Regions from separate parts of the Homo sapiens genome. Here region 2 is linked to region 1. Evidence: promoter capture Hi-C in human tissues and cell types (Jung and others, 2019). All regions are on one chromosome and are shown on one strand. The core of a region is centred on a gene start or on the middle of the fragment in contact, and the rest is flanking DNA. Distances in the headings are between cores, read along the strand shown.

Evidence for each region. The method cuts DNA at HindIII sites, captures the fragments that hold promoters and counts their contacts. A contact is called where the count stands out against the background at its distance.
Region 2: a fragment that was not itself captured here is called in contact with the fragment with the promoter of NINJ2 in region 1 in 2 of the 25 tissues and cell types used here (spleen and thymus).

What each region holds. Positions count from the first base shown.
Region 1 is chr12:657,640-665,237 of GRCh38, forward strand. It overlaps NINJ2 (ninjurin 2), which reads right to left and starts at 5,806. Exons shown (of 4, transcript NM_016533.6): 1 at 5,689-5,806. The coding sequence starts at 5,721. The HindIII fragment of the contact is 21,671 bases long and covers 1-7,598 here.
Region 2 is chr12:560,747-568,232 of GRCh38, forward strand. B4GALNT3 (beta-1,4-N-acetyl-galactosaminyltransferase 3) reads left to right here. Exons shown (of 20, transcript NM_173593.4): 20 at 597-2,763. The coding sequence ends at 705. NINJ2 (ninjurin 2) reads right to left here. Exons shown (of 4, transcript NM_016533.6): 2 at 5,204-5,432; 3 at 4,471-4,655; 4 at 3,550-3,935. The coding sequence ends at 4,489. Among named protein-coding and RNA genes, the nearest start is that of NINJ2-AS1, 66 kb to the right of the region's middle. RefSeq lists enhancers at 2,003-2,504, 4,669-5,170, 5,171-5,670. The HindIII fragment of the contact is 5,955 bases long and covers 469-6,423 here.

The sequences.
Region 1 (7,598 bases), core at 4,556-7,055:
GAACAGCCACCTCACTAAAGAAGATGCAAAGGTAGCAGATAAGCATATGAGAAGATTCTCCACATCTTATGTCACTAGGGAAATGCAAATTAAAACAAAAATGGGATATCACTGCACAGCTACTAGAATGGCCAACATCCAGAACACTGACAATACCAAATGCTGATGAGAATGTGGAACACCTATTCATTGCTGGTGGACATGCAAAACAGTATAGCCATTTTGGAAGACAGTTTGGCAGTTTCTTCCAAAACTCAACACACTCTTACCATATGATCCAGCAATTGCAATCCTTGGTATCTTCCCAAATGAATTCAGAATTTGTGTTTACACAAAAACCTACACAGGCTTTTTTTTTTTTTTTTTTTTTTTTTTTTGAGGCAGAGTCTCACTCTGTCACTCAGGCTGGAGTGCAGTGGTGCGATCTCAGCTGGCTGCAACCTCCGCCTCCCGGGTTCAAGCGATTCTCCTGCCTTAGCCTCCCGAGTAGCTGGGATTACAAGCACCTGCCACCATGCCTGGCTAATTTTTGTATTTTTAGTAGAAGTGGGGTTTCACCATGTTAGCGATAGCCAGGCTGGTCTCGAACTCCTAACCTCAAGTGATCCACTCACCTCGGCCTCCCAAAGTGCTGGGATTACAGGTGTGAGCCACTGCGCCCAGCTGAGTGGCTTTATACAGAATGATACGTAATGCCAAAACTTGGAAGCAACCAAGATGTCCTTCGGTAGGTGAATAAAATAAACAGTAGTACATCCAGACACTGGAATATTATTCAGTACTTAAAAGAAATGAGCTATCAAGCCATGAAAAGAGATGGAGGAAACTTCAGTGCCATTACTGAGTGAGAGAAGGCAATCTGAAAAGGCTACATATTGTATGATTCCAGCTATGTGACACTCTGGAAAAGGCAAAACAAAAAGTCAGTCATTGCTAGGGGTTCAGAGGGGAAGGAGCAATGAAGAGGCAGAATGCAGAGGATTTTTAGGGCAGTGAAACTTCTCTATTATGCTATGCTATGCTATGCTATGCTATGCTATGCTATGCTATGCTATGCTATGCTATGCTATGCTATGCTATGCTATGCTAATGCTATGCTATGCTATACTATACTATGCTATAGCGGTGGAAACATGTTATTACGCATAGAATGTTTAACACCAAGAGTGAACCCTCATGTAAACTGTAGACTTTGGGTCATAATGATGTGTCAATGTAAGGCTCATCGGTTGTAAAAAAACAATGTACCATTTTGGTGGAGGAAGTTGATAATGGGGAGTCTATGCATGTGGGGCAAGGGGCTATATGGGAGATCTCTGGCCTTCCTTCTCCATTTTGCCATGAACCTAAAACTGCTATTACATATATAGTTGCTATTCTCTCTATATATAACTGCTATTATATATTATATATAATATATATATAATATATAACTGCTTATATATATATATGTCTTTAAAAACAATAAAACAAACAAACAAACAAAAACACTCCCAGAGTACTTTGCCTATAGACCTTCTTCTATTCATAAGTGTTTTTACCTCCACTCCCATCTCATTCTATCTGTATCTCGCTCTACTTAACCTGAGCTATACTGAATTTGCATTCGGTTTGGACAAGTCTTAGTTCCTCTTTTGGCAGATCATCTTCACATTTCCATCAACATGCAGCACAGGTGGAAAAAAAGGGGCCAATAACTGGATCTGCCTGGGGAATCTGGAAGCCCAAGAGGAGCTGCATTTTGGGAAGGAGCCAGGCTAGGGGCTTAAACTCTGTACTTGGGGGTAGGGTTGCAACACTGGCTCGAAGGGGAAGAAAGGGATTATCCTCAACCTTTCACACATCCAGACTCTGGGAGATGCGCAGGCTTAGCTCCCTGGCAGGGCTACCAGTGAAGGCAGGGAGAAGGGCAGAGGCTTGGAGGCCACAGCCACAGGCCATAGAACAGAAGGAGCAGCTCCAGGCATCCAGCTGGTGGAGGCCACCTGCCCTGAGTGCTGTGCGCCACTCTTCACAGCCAGCTGTGCTGCTGCTACCCATCCCAGTCTCACAGGTCTTGACCTGGAGATACATTTGCAACATTGATTATAGAGGCTCAAGTTAATGTTATTTTAGATTAGAGTTTCCCAAACTTCAGTTGTGCCATGTTCAGGGTTTCAACGTCTCAGTGCAGTAGTAGGTGCGGGCACACACACCTGTGATCCATGTCACCCAGGGCTGCCGTACTTCTGAACAGGTCAGACAGAAACAGTTACTAAGACATTGAGGGTATGCCCAGGTCATGTGCAAGGACTGTATAAAGGTGTCAAAAAACTTCCTGCCACTTACTTGAGGCTCATCCTAAGCAATAAAAATGTTGGAATTGCCTGGACATGTGGCTCATGCCTGTAATCCCAACACTTTGGGAGGCCAAGACAGGAAGATCACTTGAGACCAGCAGTTAGAGACCAGCCTGGGCAATACAGTGAGACCCCAATCACTAAAAAAAGAAAAAAAAAATTAGCTGGGCATGGTAGTGCACATGTGTGGTCCCAGCTATTTAGGAGGCTGAGGCAGGAGGATAACTTGGGCCCAGGAGGTTAAGGCTGCAGTGAGCCAAGATTGCACCACTGCACTCCTGCCTGTGTGACACAGCAAGATCCTGTCTGTTAAAAAAAAAAAAAAAAAAAAAAGGAATCACAGGTCTGATAAGTTGTTATGCTTTCTTTCTTTTTTCTTTTCTTTTTTTTTTTTTTGAGACAGAGTCTCAAAAGTGCAGTGGCACGATCTCCGCTCACCACAACCTCTGCCTCCCAGGTTCAAGCAACTCTCCTGCCTCAGCCTCCTGAGTAGCTGGGACTACAGGCGTACACCACCACGCCTAGCTAATTTTTGTATTTTTAGTAGAGACAGGGTTTCACTATGTTGGCCAGGATGGTCTGCAACCCCTGACCTCGTGATCCGCCCACCTCAGACTCCCAAAGTGCTGGGGTTACAGGCGTGAGCCACCTAGCCCGGCCCTGTTATGCTCTTTCTAATGAATACTGAAACTATAAAGATGGCCAGCTATGGTGGCTCACACCTGTAATCCCAGCACTTTGGGAGGCCGAGGCTTGTGGATCATTTGAGGTCAGGAGTGCAAGACTAGCCTGGCCAATATGATGAAACCCTGTCTCTACTAAAAATATGAAAATTAGCCAAGTGTGGTGGTACATGCCTATAATCCCAGCTACTTGGGAAGCTGAGGCAGGAGAATCACTTGAACCCAGGAGGCGGAGGTTGCAGTGAGCTGAGATTTTGCCACTACACTCCACCCTAGGCGACAGAGTGAGACTCCATCTCAAAAAAAACTGTAAAAATAAACATTATAATAAAAAGCTGTCAGCCATTGATGTACCTTTACCACCCATTGGTGATAATTGTACCACATTTTGGGGAAACATTGTTTTAACTAAAGAGTGTTATTGTTTTGTTTTTAGAGATAGGGTCTGGCTCTGCCGCCCAGGCTGGAGTGCAATGGCATGATTGTAGCTCACTGCAACCTTGAACTCCTGGCTTCAAACAATCCTCCCACCTCAGCCTCCCGAGTAGTGGGGACTACAGGTGCATGCCACCATGCCTAGCTAATTACTTTTAAATTTTTAATAGAGATAGGGTCTTGCTATGTTGCCCAGGCTGATCTCTAGCTCTTGAGCTCAAGTGATCCTCCTGCCTCAGCCTCCAAAATGCTAGGATTACAGGCGTAGGCCACCGTGCCCAGCCAAAGGTGGACAATAAATTGTAGAAAATAATGGATAACCTTCTGAGCAAAGGAAAATGTAAGATACAAGAATTAAATAGCATATTAGAAGAGAGTGAATGACAAATGAAGAGAAAGGTACACTAACACCTCAGTTACCTGCTAGAGAGAGACATTCATCCAGCCTAGCCAGTCATTTCCTTCTCCTTCCTCCCACCACCTCTTTCCTTCTGAACCTCTGGTTCAGATGCAGAGTCCTTAGCCTGTAACTCTGGATCGTTCAACCCATCAGCACATAAGAAACTTGCTCTTCTGAGAATGAAAATAAGCAGCAACACAATTTCCTTAACAACCAAGGATCTTATAGAGGCAAGAACTAGAAGTAAGAAGAAAACACATACTAGGGACAGAAGACATGGACTGGAGGTCTTGGGCCAATTAGGTGACCTTATTCCTATCTCAGAGCCTCTCCAACTCATGGCTTCCTCAACTCATTCATTTAACAAATGTTTTCTAAAGCAATGACCGTGTACCAAGAGTTGCCTCATGCACTCGGGCTGCAGCAGTGAATAAAACAGGAGAGGCCCTGCCCTCAGAGATCTTGTGTCCTAGTGAGAGTGACAGGCAATACATACTAAATAAATAAGCAGTGTAACTTTAGGTGGTGAGCAGTGCTATGAAAGAAATTAAACAAATGATAAAGACAAATTGGGGAGGAGGCATCCTGTGAAGAGGTTGGTCAGGGGAGGGCTCCTGGGGGAAGTAACATTTGAGCTGAGACCTGAATGTACTAGGAAGGGCCAGCCAGGAGATAAGCCAGGGAAAGAAGGTTCCAGACAGAGGGACAAGCAAGCCTTGCGGTGGGACCGCTCTCGGGGCTGGCTGCCAATCCAGGAAAACAGCACTGGGTATGCAGTTGTACTAGGTGAATGGTTTTGACACAGCACACCAAGCAGTCCTACAGTTCCCTGGTGGTGTCTCAAGGGCGGAGGGGCCAAGGACAGAGACTCTGCCAGACTCACGCCACCCTGCCCAAAACACACACAGAGAACGAGAGAGAGAGAGAGAGAGAGAGACGCGTGCACATACTCTGCTTCAACAAAACAGCTCTTCTTTAATCCGAAGTGTATATTGGGTGGCTGCTTAAGATTTTGTTCGAGGACCAGGTTCAGGGATCAGAAATTCTTGATCTCAAAAGTCCTTTTCCACACTTTGTTTGATTCTCTGCAATGTTACACAGCCTCAGCAGTGGTCATAGAAGGGTTCGTTCTATTCTATCCATTGGCAAGGAGTCACAGAGTGCAGCTCCCAGCAATCTGGCTCTCCTCTCACCGTAACATCCCACCCTTTCCCCTCCAGCAGTGGACTGGAACCTCTGATGCCTTCCAAGCCCATCCCAGCTACAGAGGGACACACATCTCTGCCTCTTCCTAGGAGATTAGACTGATTTCCTTTCCTTGCACTGTCCAAATGAGACGCTTTCTGTCCTACACAGTAGAGCTTTGTGAAGACAGCCGAGAAACGGCTCAAGTTTTTTCCAACCTGTAAAATGCAAAGTTGGCCAGCTGCCTCTCTTCCTAGCCTCAAAACTCATATATTTCCTGTCTCCCCGGCAGCTCTAAGAGAAGTCTCTACTGTCCTGGGGTTTGGGGAAAGCACTGCTCAGAATGTGAAATCATTTTCTGGTAATACGGATCTAATTAGCTCTTTGACTGACAAGAGGAAGCAGAGGCCAAAAGGGAGTTAACCAATCTGTTTTTCAGATATTTCAAAACAAGTGAAGAACCAGATAGGGAAACAGAGAGAAAGAGAAAATAAAGAGACAAAGCCTAGGGAGCATTTGGAGAAGGGAGTGAGTAAGAAGAGAACGGGGAGGGAGAATATCAAGTGACTAAAGTATCAATCCTCTGTTCTTCCAGCTTCACCTCTACTCCCGGTCTCCCCTCTGCTCTCTTCCAGAGAGAACTTACTTGAAGGTCGATGTTTTCTCTTGCTGATTCCATCTCGCTGCCCTCAAGTCCCTTCACACGCACCGGGTGCCGGGAACAGACTGCGTGGGCTCCTCCAGGCTCCGCCGTCTGAGTCTCTGCTGCTTTCTTCGGGTGGGAGAGAGCACACAGCTGGCGGGACAGACCTGCCATTCATCCCTCTGATGTGGGATGCCCGTCTTGGCTGCAGCCTCTGGGGGAGGTGTGCACCTGCACACACGTGTGAGTGTATGTGTGTGCACATGTGTGTGCTCCAGGAGGTGGCACATGGCACACTGATAGGTGACCTTTTGAGTTGGTAGTGACAGCATCATTTTCACCAGTGGCTCCAGTGACCTTCCAGTCCCAGCGGAGCCATCTGAGGTCACCCAGCCTGCTTTGAGCTAGTAGCTTTATGACTGGCAAAGAAATCCTGCATGTTTATCAAGCAAATTGAAAAACAGCCTGAGGACAACGCTATCTGACTTCACCGCTGGGTCCAGTCCCCAGTCGCCACGGGTGGAGTGACCTCCAGCACAGTCTCAATACTGAGGCAGAGGGATTTCCGTTGTTCTTTGCTTTGTTCCCTATATCCCTAAAAGTTTTTAAAAAAATTGTAGTTTACCTAATAGGCTCCAAAGCATAGGCTTTGTTCTGCAAAGTGAGTGAACAATACGTTTTTACTGACGGATTGTTTGATTCCTTCAACTCCTCCCTTGATTAGCCATAGAGGGAGCAGGGAGTAGTTGTACCTTCGAAGCTTGTTTATGCAAACAGTGGTATTCTCCCTACTTTTAAAATAAAATTACCAGGAGGGAGTCTTTTTTTAGAAAGTTTTTTTTTTCCTCTCCTGTTTACCTTAGAGCCCAAAACTCTTCTGGCTTGTTCCTGAAGCAAGGTTTAGACACAAGCTTGTGCAGGTGTGGGTGTGGGTATGTCTGTAGACGTGCATGGCAGGGTGTTAACCTGTAATCCAATTCAGGGCTTGAAGAGGTGCGGGCAGGAGGAAGACAGGCAGAGTCAACACGTTTACCCTCACCACATTCAAATGTAAAAAAAAAAAAAGGCGATTTCTTCAGTTCTATGAAATGCCTTTATAAGTTCCCATCCCTCTGGACAGTGGTGCGAGGGAGGGTTGGATGATTGGATGGGGGCCATATTTTAGTCTAATCTATGAAGCATAGTTGGATTTAATCATTTAAATGGTAAACAGTCCACTTTAGACACAATGCTCAGTCTTTCGGATTTGCAGAAGATGGCACCTAGGTGCACAGGAGGGCGGGGTGGGGACGGTTCTTGCATCTATCCTGTGGCCTCTCCATCTCGGCTCCTTTCTGTTCTGGAGCTGCTGGGCCCACGGGCCCGCCCGAATTGCTGACTGCTGAGGAGACACAGGTCCTGCTCCTGGGTCTTCTGCTGGCCTTGGTGGCTGATGTCTGATATTAGGCCAGAGTCACTCATGGGTGATTCTCTTTCTGCCTTTGAGATCCAGTGTTCTCCCTTGCTGTCTGCGCTACCTTGGCTCGTGGCAATGTGGACCATCCTGAGACCTGGCTTTGACTTGTATGTGCCCCCATCCCACTGTATCCGCTCAGTGGCCCACATCTCTAAGATAAGCCCCTCGAAATTTTCCTGTGAGATGCTTGACCAGTGCTCCTGAGCCCCCTTAGGCACATGGGGACTGAGGGCTGCTGACGAAGGGCAGGGGAAAGGCAAGCTCAGCCCCACTTCCAGCAGAGTTTGCTCTGATGTGGCTGCTCCAACTGACACAGGGCAGTCTGCGAGGTGATCTCCTTCCACATTCCTGAATGGAAATGAGACCTGGAACCCACTCTTCTCAGCACTCCTTAAAAAGTCTACCAGTAATATCTATCACCCCACCGCTCATAATAATACCACTATGTATCAAGCAC
Region 2 (7,486 bases), core at 2,196-4,695, 99 kb before region 1:
TACAGCCCTGAACCTCCTGCCTCCTCGGAGGCTCAGGCATCCAGTTCGGCCACTCTCAGCCCTGCCAGAAGTGCAGCCTCCCTGTGAGAGGGACACCCTGCAGGCTGCACATGCACAAAAGGCCTGGGGAGGGCCTAGGCGCCAGGTGTCTCAGTGCAGCAGCCCTGCCTTCCTCCGTCTATGACGTGTGCCCTGGAGGCTGGGCGCCAGTTATGGGGCACTCAGAGTGTGCCAGGAGCCGTGCTGAGCCCTCAGCATCCATCCTTCTCGTCTTCCCCACCTCTGATGTGTATATAGTATGTCTACTCTAATATTAGATAGATAGAATTCTATATCACACATTATCCTCTCATTACACGTATGTGATAATCGTCCTCCTAGAGATGAGCAGACAGGCTCTGAAAGAAGGCGTGACATACCCAGTCATGCAGCTGGGATCCAAACCCAGGCTGCCTGGCTTCAAAGCCCACAGCCGTCCACTGCACCTGCCTTCCCTGCCCCGTGGGGAGCGAACAGAGGGTCTGTGGTCGATGGGGAGGGGCCCCCCAGCTGCCTTCTGTGCTTCTGTTGGCTCATCTGTGTTTCTCCTCCTCCAGGATACTCCAAGCGGGCCTGGACGTGGAGCGTCTCTCCCTCAGGAATTTCTTCCATCATTTCCATTCCAAGCGAGGCATGTGGAGCCGTCGCCAGATGAAGACGCTGTAGCCGGAGGGTGTCCGCGGGGCCCAGCACTCCCCGCTCTGGACTAGCAGTGGCTCCCCAGGGCCCTGCTACTGTTCAGGGATGGGGAGTGGGGTGACGGCTGGACCCCAAGAGGCCTCGAAGCTGACGGCCCACTCCACCTGGAGCTGTCCCCTCACAGAGGCAGGTTCCGGGGCTCCTGTCTCTGCCTCCTGGGCCTTCAGAAGGGAGGACTTTGAGAGAGAGGCCAGGAGGGACCACTTGCTCAGTCGAGAACGGGAAGAGCTCCTGAGAAGGACGGGTCAGGAAGGAGAGATCTGACTGAGCGACACCATCCTCATCCATGAAGGTGCACGCCCACATCCCCCAAGCGCTCCTCACGCCAAGCGCTGACCACCAGACCCTCTTCTAGTGGACATATTTTATTGGGGGGCGGGGATTTTAAAAACAGAAAACCGAAACTGCTGTCCAGAGCGGGGGTGAGGTTGTGCACTGAGGGACTGTCCCCACGTGCAGGCCTCCCGCCCACTCCTATGTCCCTTGGGCGTTGTCCCTGGCCGCGGGACTGGTCCCACGTGGGGCAGGTCTCTGCTCCACCCCAGGCTCGTGCCTTCCAGAGACACACATCTCCCAGTAGCCACCAAACAGCTGGCCACTGATTAGGGCATTAACTTCCTCCGGATGGCTCACGTCAGACCAGAAGCACAGAACGGGCTGTTTCTGGTGCTTGGGCATTGGGAGGTGGGGAGCTGGCGGGCAGGGGGCTTGCCACTCCCTGGCACTGGACATTGAGGCCTGCAGAACAGGCAGGGTGATGAAGGCAGGGGAGAGAAGCCCTTTCCCTTACCGGCGTGCCTGTGGGTAAGGCCTCCCGAGAGGACATGGAGAAGAGGTAAAGAGGATGTGGACATATCTGTCAATTTCCTTAGGCAAGAAGCGGGTGGGGGCTGGACAGAAAGGGACGAAAAGGGAAGTGGAAGCTGTGAGCCTCACAGTCCAGCTCCACTGCAGACCTGCCCTTCTGCAGGGAGAGCCCTGGCCACCCGGCCTTGAGTGGAAGAAGAGGAAAGGGTGTACGGGGGCAAAACCCTGGACAGGGAGCAGGATAAGAAGGGGGCGGGATGAGAGGTTTGGGGAGGTGAGGACATTGCCCTGAGATATCCCCTGGAGGCAGGGAGAGGAGTGGGGGCAGGAGGAACTGAAGAGGGGGGCAGTTTCAGGGAAAATAGCCCTTAGCCTTTTTAGTCGATGCCACCCTTTCTGTCACCTGGAGACCTTGTACTTCTCTTGCACTAATAACCCCGGTGCTTTTGTGGCTGGGGGTTTTTCTGTTGCTGCTGCTGCCTCCACCACTGCTGTGAATTCACCCATGGTGCATTGGACACTGGATCTTGAACTCCAGAGTCTGTTTAGGGAGGTGAGCACAGGGCTGGGGGAGGTGCGGCGGGGCCCAGAAGACCAGGCCACTGAGCCCGCGCTCCAGGCTGTGACGGTCCAAACCACGGCACTGGAGCTGCAGGGTCTGCCTAGTGGGCTCTGCATTCCCCGAGAGCACGAGTTTGGCACATGGGAGAATGGAGCCCGTGGAGAACCTTCTGGGGGGTCGGGGAGAATCCCTGCCTCCCTTTAAGGAATCATGAAGGACAGAGACTTTTGAGATTGTGGCTTAGGAAGGCCATACCTGCTCCCTGGGCTGTGGCTTTTTCTGGTCCCTGCTGAGGCCGACTGGCCCCTGGAGAAGGATGGTGGGGCATAGGCTAGGGCTGCAGTTGGCCAGTGGGGCTGCCAGTTTCTTTCTGGGACCACTCTCGTCCTCGGGCATTGCACTGGAAGGCTGGAACCAGCCCAAACTGCCCACCTGCTTCACTTCCAATGACTAGGAGCCAGCCCAGCCTCCTGCCCTGCCCACACCCCTGCGCCCTGGGCCAGTGCCTTGCGTTTGATGTTACCTCCACACCATCTGCCTTAAGAGGAAGGGCCGGGCAAGGCCCCTACTCCCTAGAGAAATGTCTTGGGTAGGAGAGGGTGTGGGATGGTGGGAGGGGAAGCATTAAATACAGCAACTTCTTAGAAAAAAAAAAAGGTGCTTGTCTTTTCCTGTTGCTCTTCACGGATGTAAAGGATTGGGCTGAGGGGCCCAGGTGGGCGTGCCAAGGACCCTCCCACACCACCCTCCACCCTTACCACAAGTGTGATGCCTGCTGTGTGTGAGATGGCCTTCTCTGCACTGCGGTTTACTCAGGAAGAAGACAACATTGTTCCTGTCTGAGCAGCTCACCGTGTAATAGACTAGGCATTTTCTGTTCAGCAGATTAATGGAGGTTGGTGGTTTTAGCCGAGGAAAGCTATGGATACGCTGGGTGGAGAAGGCTAGATATAGGGCCAGAACGGTTTGGTGAGCAGTGGAGAGAAGCCAACGAGTGGCTGCTTCTAAACTGGCAGACCTTCTAAAAATCATTTCTGTTTCTGAGTTGGCAATGCTTTGCTAATGCTTTACAGATTTACCTTCCTCGTTATATTTGGCCCAGGCAAAGATCAAAATGAGTTTGCAGTCCTTAAACACATGCCTAAGGGAAGCTGAGACTGAAAGCCAGAATAGCTTACAGCAGGTTCGTGGAGAAGATTGTGCATATGTGCATCCACCTGCAATGGACTAATCTACAGTTCATGGGGCAGATGACGATAAGCGCAAGACATCTGGGCCAGGAACATTGGCTCCGAGCAGAACCCACAGAGGAGGAAGTAATTTAAAAGCCTTCCCACCCTCCAGGTCTGGGGTTTGCTCTCTTGAGCCCTCTCCAAGGCACAGATGGAGACCAGCCTGGATGCCTGAGCCTGCAGGACTAGACAAGTAAGTGGACTCAAGAGTGGATTTGAAGAAACCTTTATAGATATAGATTCCATTTTACAAGAAGGGAAAATTGAGGCCTGGAGCAGAAGGAAGCAGTGGGGTAGAGTCAGAACCAGCATCCTTAAGCCGGGCAGACTTGGCCTTAGACAGACATGCCTTACTTAGGTCCAGCAGATGCTACCAGGAAGGTATGGCTGGCAGTACCTGCGTCTGAGCTCAGGACTTCAGACCAAGATGGAAGTCCCTTAGACCAATAACATAAAAATCACTTTTTAACTCAGGTGCTGTGGGTAGGGAGCAAGGGCAGCTATACTGTCCTTTCAGAAGCTCTCCTGGGCTGTGGAAAGTGCCCACGAGCCTGGCAGATCACGGAGGAAGGAGGCAGAAGTTCCAGGCCCAGAACCTGTTGAGGAAGCAGAGAAGAGGCAATGAGGATGGCAGGCCAGATCAATGCCCCTCAACCTTCAGCATGCCCAGGATGCACCTGGCCACGTTACTCATGCACGTGCCTGTAGCACGTGCTCGAGCAGAGCCTGAGATTCTGCATTTCCAGCAAGTTCCTGGGTGGTTTGTGGATGCTGCTGACCCATGGACCACAGTCAGTAGCAAGAGCTGCTAGACAATGGCAGGGAGAAATTCCCCATCTCCACCTTTCCTCTTGCCGGAGGGGCAGAGTCAACCACTAATGGCATCGCCTCCACCCTGTCCCAGACCGTGGGAAAACCTGAGCCTGAGAGCAGAGAGCCATTAACACAGCAGTGGGGCTTTGTGCAAGCCTCGCTGAGGCCAGGCTCTTGCAGATCCTCTCCTTGCTCTCGGAGCTACAGGCCTTCCCCCTTTGTTTGGCAAGGGATCTGTTTCTTGCCCCAAAGCCCCAGAGGAGAGAGAAGGGCCACCTGGGGAGTCCCTGGAGCTGGGGTTCCTCCATCCTCCCTCACCTGGGTCCCAGGCTGCATTCAGAGAGGATTCCTTGAGGCCCTGGCAGCCAGGAACCCTGTTTTATGTGCCCCGAAGGCTGTAATGAAAACATTGATGACCACAGTGAAGAAGACCAAGATGGTGGCTGCGTTGTTGAGCTGGTTGAGTCGCCACTGCTTTTCTACCTCATTCAGGTTCAGCCGTGCTGCAGGGAAGTGGAGTGGGGGGAAAGGGTCAGAGACGGGGCCACAGCACGGAGCTGCCCCCACAACACCCACCAGAGTTTGGAGAGAGGGGCCCTTCAGAAACCCATGTGGCAGAAATCAAGGGAGGTGGTCGTCATCGGGCTGAGATGCCTCTGCCCTCGCCAACCAGTACAATGGGGCACCCTAGTGTGCTTCATCCCACCAGGATTTGGGAACTTAAGCTGGGTCCTGTAAGCGTGGGGACGAGTGCTCATGGAGAAGCGGTGAGCGAGTGAGTGAGTTAGCAGTTAGCGAGGTGCTGGCGCAGTCATTCAGCAGGTACTGCGGAGGGTCTGCTCCATGGGATACCAGGAGACAGGACAGGGCGCCTGCCCTCGCGGGGTGGAAGTTGGTCTTTGGGCCTCTGTTAGCGGAGGGCTCACTGCAGGTCAGCGTGTGGTTGCAAAGCTGCCTGTGCCAATGCAGGGTGGCCCAGGGGACACGTGGGGCCTTTCTGCCAGCCACGGGTGCCGAGGCAGAAGGTCTGACTGCAGGCTGGGCTCCTCACCAATGACCACGAGCAGGACACCGATGACCACCTGCAGGAGCAGAGAGAGGCTGATGAGGGTGACCAGGGTGGTGTAGTAGTGAGAGGATGGTCCCTGCTCCAGCACCGCCTTCAGCCGCATGGCGTTGGACATGAACAGGGCCACGTCCAGCATGCTCTCCGCCACGCTCTTCTTGGTGGCGTAATGGTTCAGGTTGATGGGCTGGCTCCTGGGGTCGGAGCTTCCAGGCTGTAGGGGAGAAAGCACAGACTTACCAAGGGGAGCTCTGGAAGGGAAGCAGTTGAGAGGTGGGAGAGAGGAGAGAGGTTTTAAAGCTCTTTCCAATCCAGATGGGAAGCTCAGGGCAAATGACACCCTTAGTTTCATGGCCTGATAAAATGAAGGGTTGGACGAGAAAACCCATAAGGACCTCTGCACTCTGAAATGACATTCTGTTGCAGTTGATACTTCCTGGAGAGTCACCCCTTCCCTCACACCTTCACACATCTGGCTGGAGAAAGCCGGGAGGGTTCTCTGCTGCTGGTAAAATGCACCTTCCTCACCCTATTCACTATTTTACCTGGGCCAGGCCTCAGCTTTGGGCTGTGTTCTTTTCCTCTGAGAGGAAAGCACCTGAGAAGACAATAAAAAGAGCTTGGAGGCTTGGGTGAAATAGAGAAAGGCACCTCCTCTCGCATAATGCTGTGGCCCCCAAGGCAGGGTGCACAGCTCAGCAGCTGATCATCGGCTGGATTTCCAACCCTCAGGAGCACTGGAGCTGCCGCCCTGCTCAGGCACACACGCTGTCAGACACAGGCTCTCAGCATACACATGCATGCATGCATGAGTGTATACACACAGTAATGCATACTAGTTAAACACTCACATCATTTTAATTATTACTTTTGGCTAGGATTTATTGAAGCATAATTTACTAAAGCTTCTCCAGAAGCCACTAACTCCAAAAGACAGAATCACAATACAGGGCATATGCTGTGGGCCTCTGGGTTGGGCCAAGAATTTCAGACTGGGCGCCATGACCAAGGGCAATCTGCAGTCACTCAAGAGTACTTGGAAGATTGATTTAGCAGTGGTGCTTGGAACAGACTGGGCCAGGAAGGGCTAGAAGCAGGGAGAGTCATTTAAAAGTTATAGTATTGATTTAGGATCAGGGTGAAAAGGAACTGAAGTGGAGCAAGGTGAGACAGGAAGGAATGGAGGACTCTGAAGGATGCTACGGCCTGGAGGTAGGGAAGATGACCCAGCAGATCACCATGACAGGACAGATACCTGCAGAGTGGGGAGAGACGGATGGATTGAAGGATGCTATGGCCTGGAGGTAGGGAAGATGACCCAGCAGATCACCACGACAGGACAGATACCTGCTGCGTGGGGACAGATGGATGGATAGATGGATGCGTGCCTATATATGCACAGTGATGCATACCAGTTAAACACTCGTAATTTGTTTTTAATTTTTTTGGCTAGGATTTATTGAAGCATAATTTACATTTGATTTTGTTTTGAAGTATAAAATAAAGCTTCATGGATGAAGGGATGGATGGATGGATGGAGAGATTGGTGGGTGGATGGATGGATGCGTGGATGATTGGATAGGCAGGTCTCAGAGGGTCTGGAATGTTCCTTGTACTTCGTGCAGCCCCAGCAAGTCACTTCACTTCTCTGTACCTCAGGGATTTACACAGAGGACAGTTGATTTACACATAGGCTAACTGATTTACCTATCTATCAGAACCTTTGGATTCTATGAGCCCTTAGGATACCCCGAAATGAGGCTGGGTGCAGTGGCTCATGCCCGTAACTCCAGCACTTTGAGAGGCCAAGGCAGGGGGATCATTTGAGGTCAGGAGTTTGAGACTAGCCTGGCCAACATGGCAAAATCCCGTCTCTACTAAAAATACAAAAAAATCAGCTGGGTATGGTGTCACACGCCTGTAATCCCAGCTACTCAGGAGGCTGAGGCAGGAGAATCACTTGAACCAGGAGGCAGAGGTTGCAGTGAGCAGAGATCGCACCATTGCACTCTAGCCTGGGTGGCAGAGTAAGACTCTTGTCTCAAAACAAAAACAAAAACAAAACTCTGAAATGCAGTAGTCTCCAGACTTTCTTGATAGTGTAATCTCAGCATTAAAAACTGTTTTGGCCATGCATCCTCAATATATGTACATTCTTCCATTATCAACTATACATATTTTTATTGGACTAATTATATATATAGTAAAATATGCAAAAGTAGAAACATTTGAAAGGATTACATAAAATTCAATATAAATAGAAGTTTA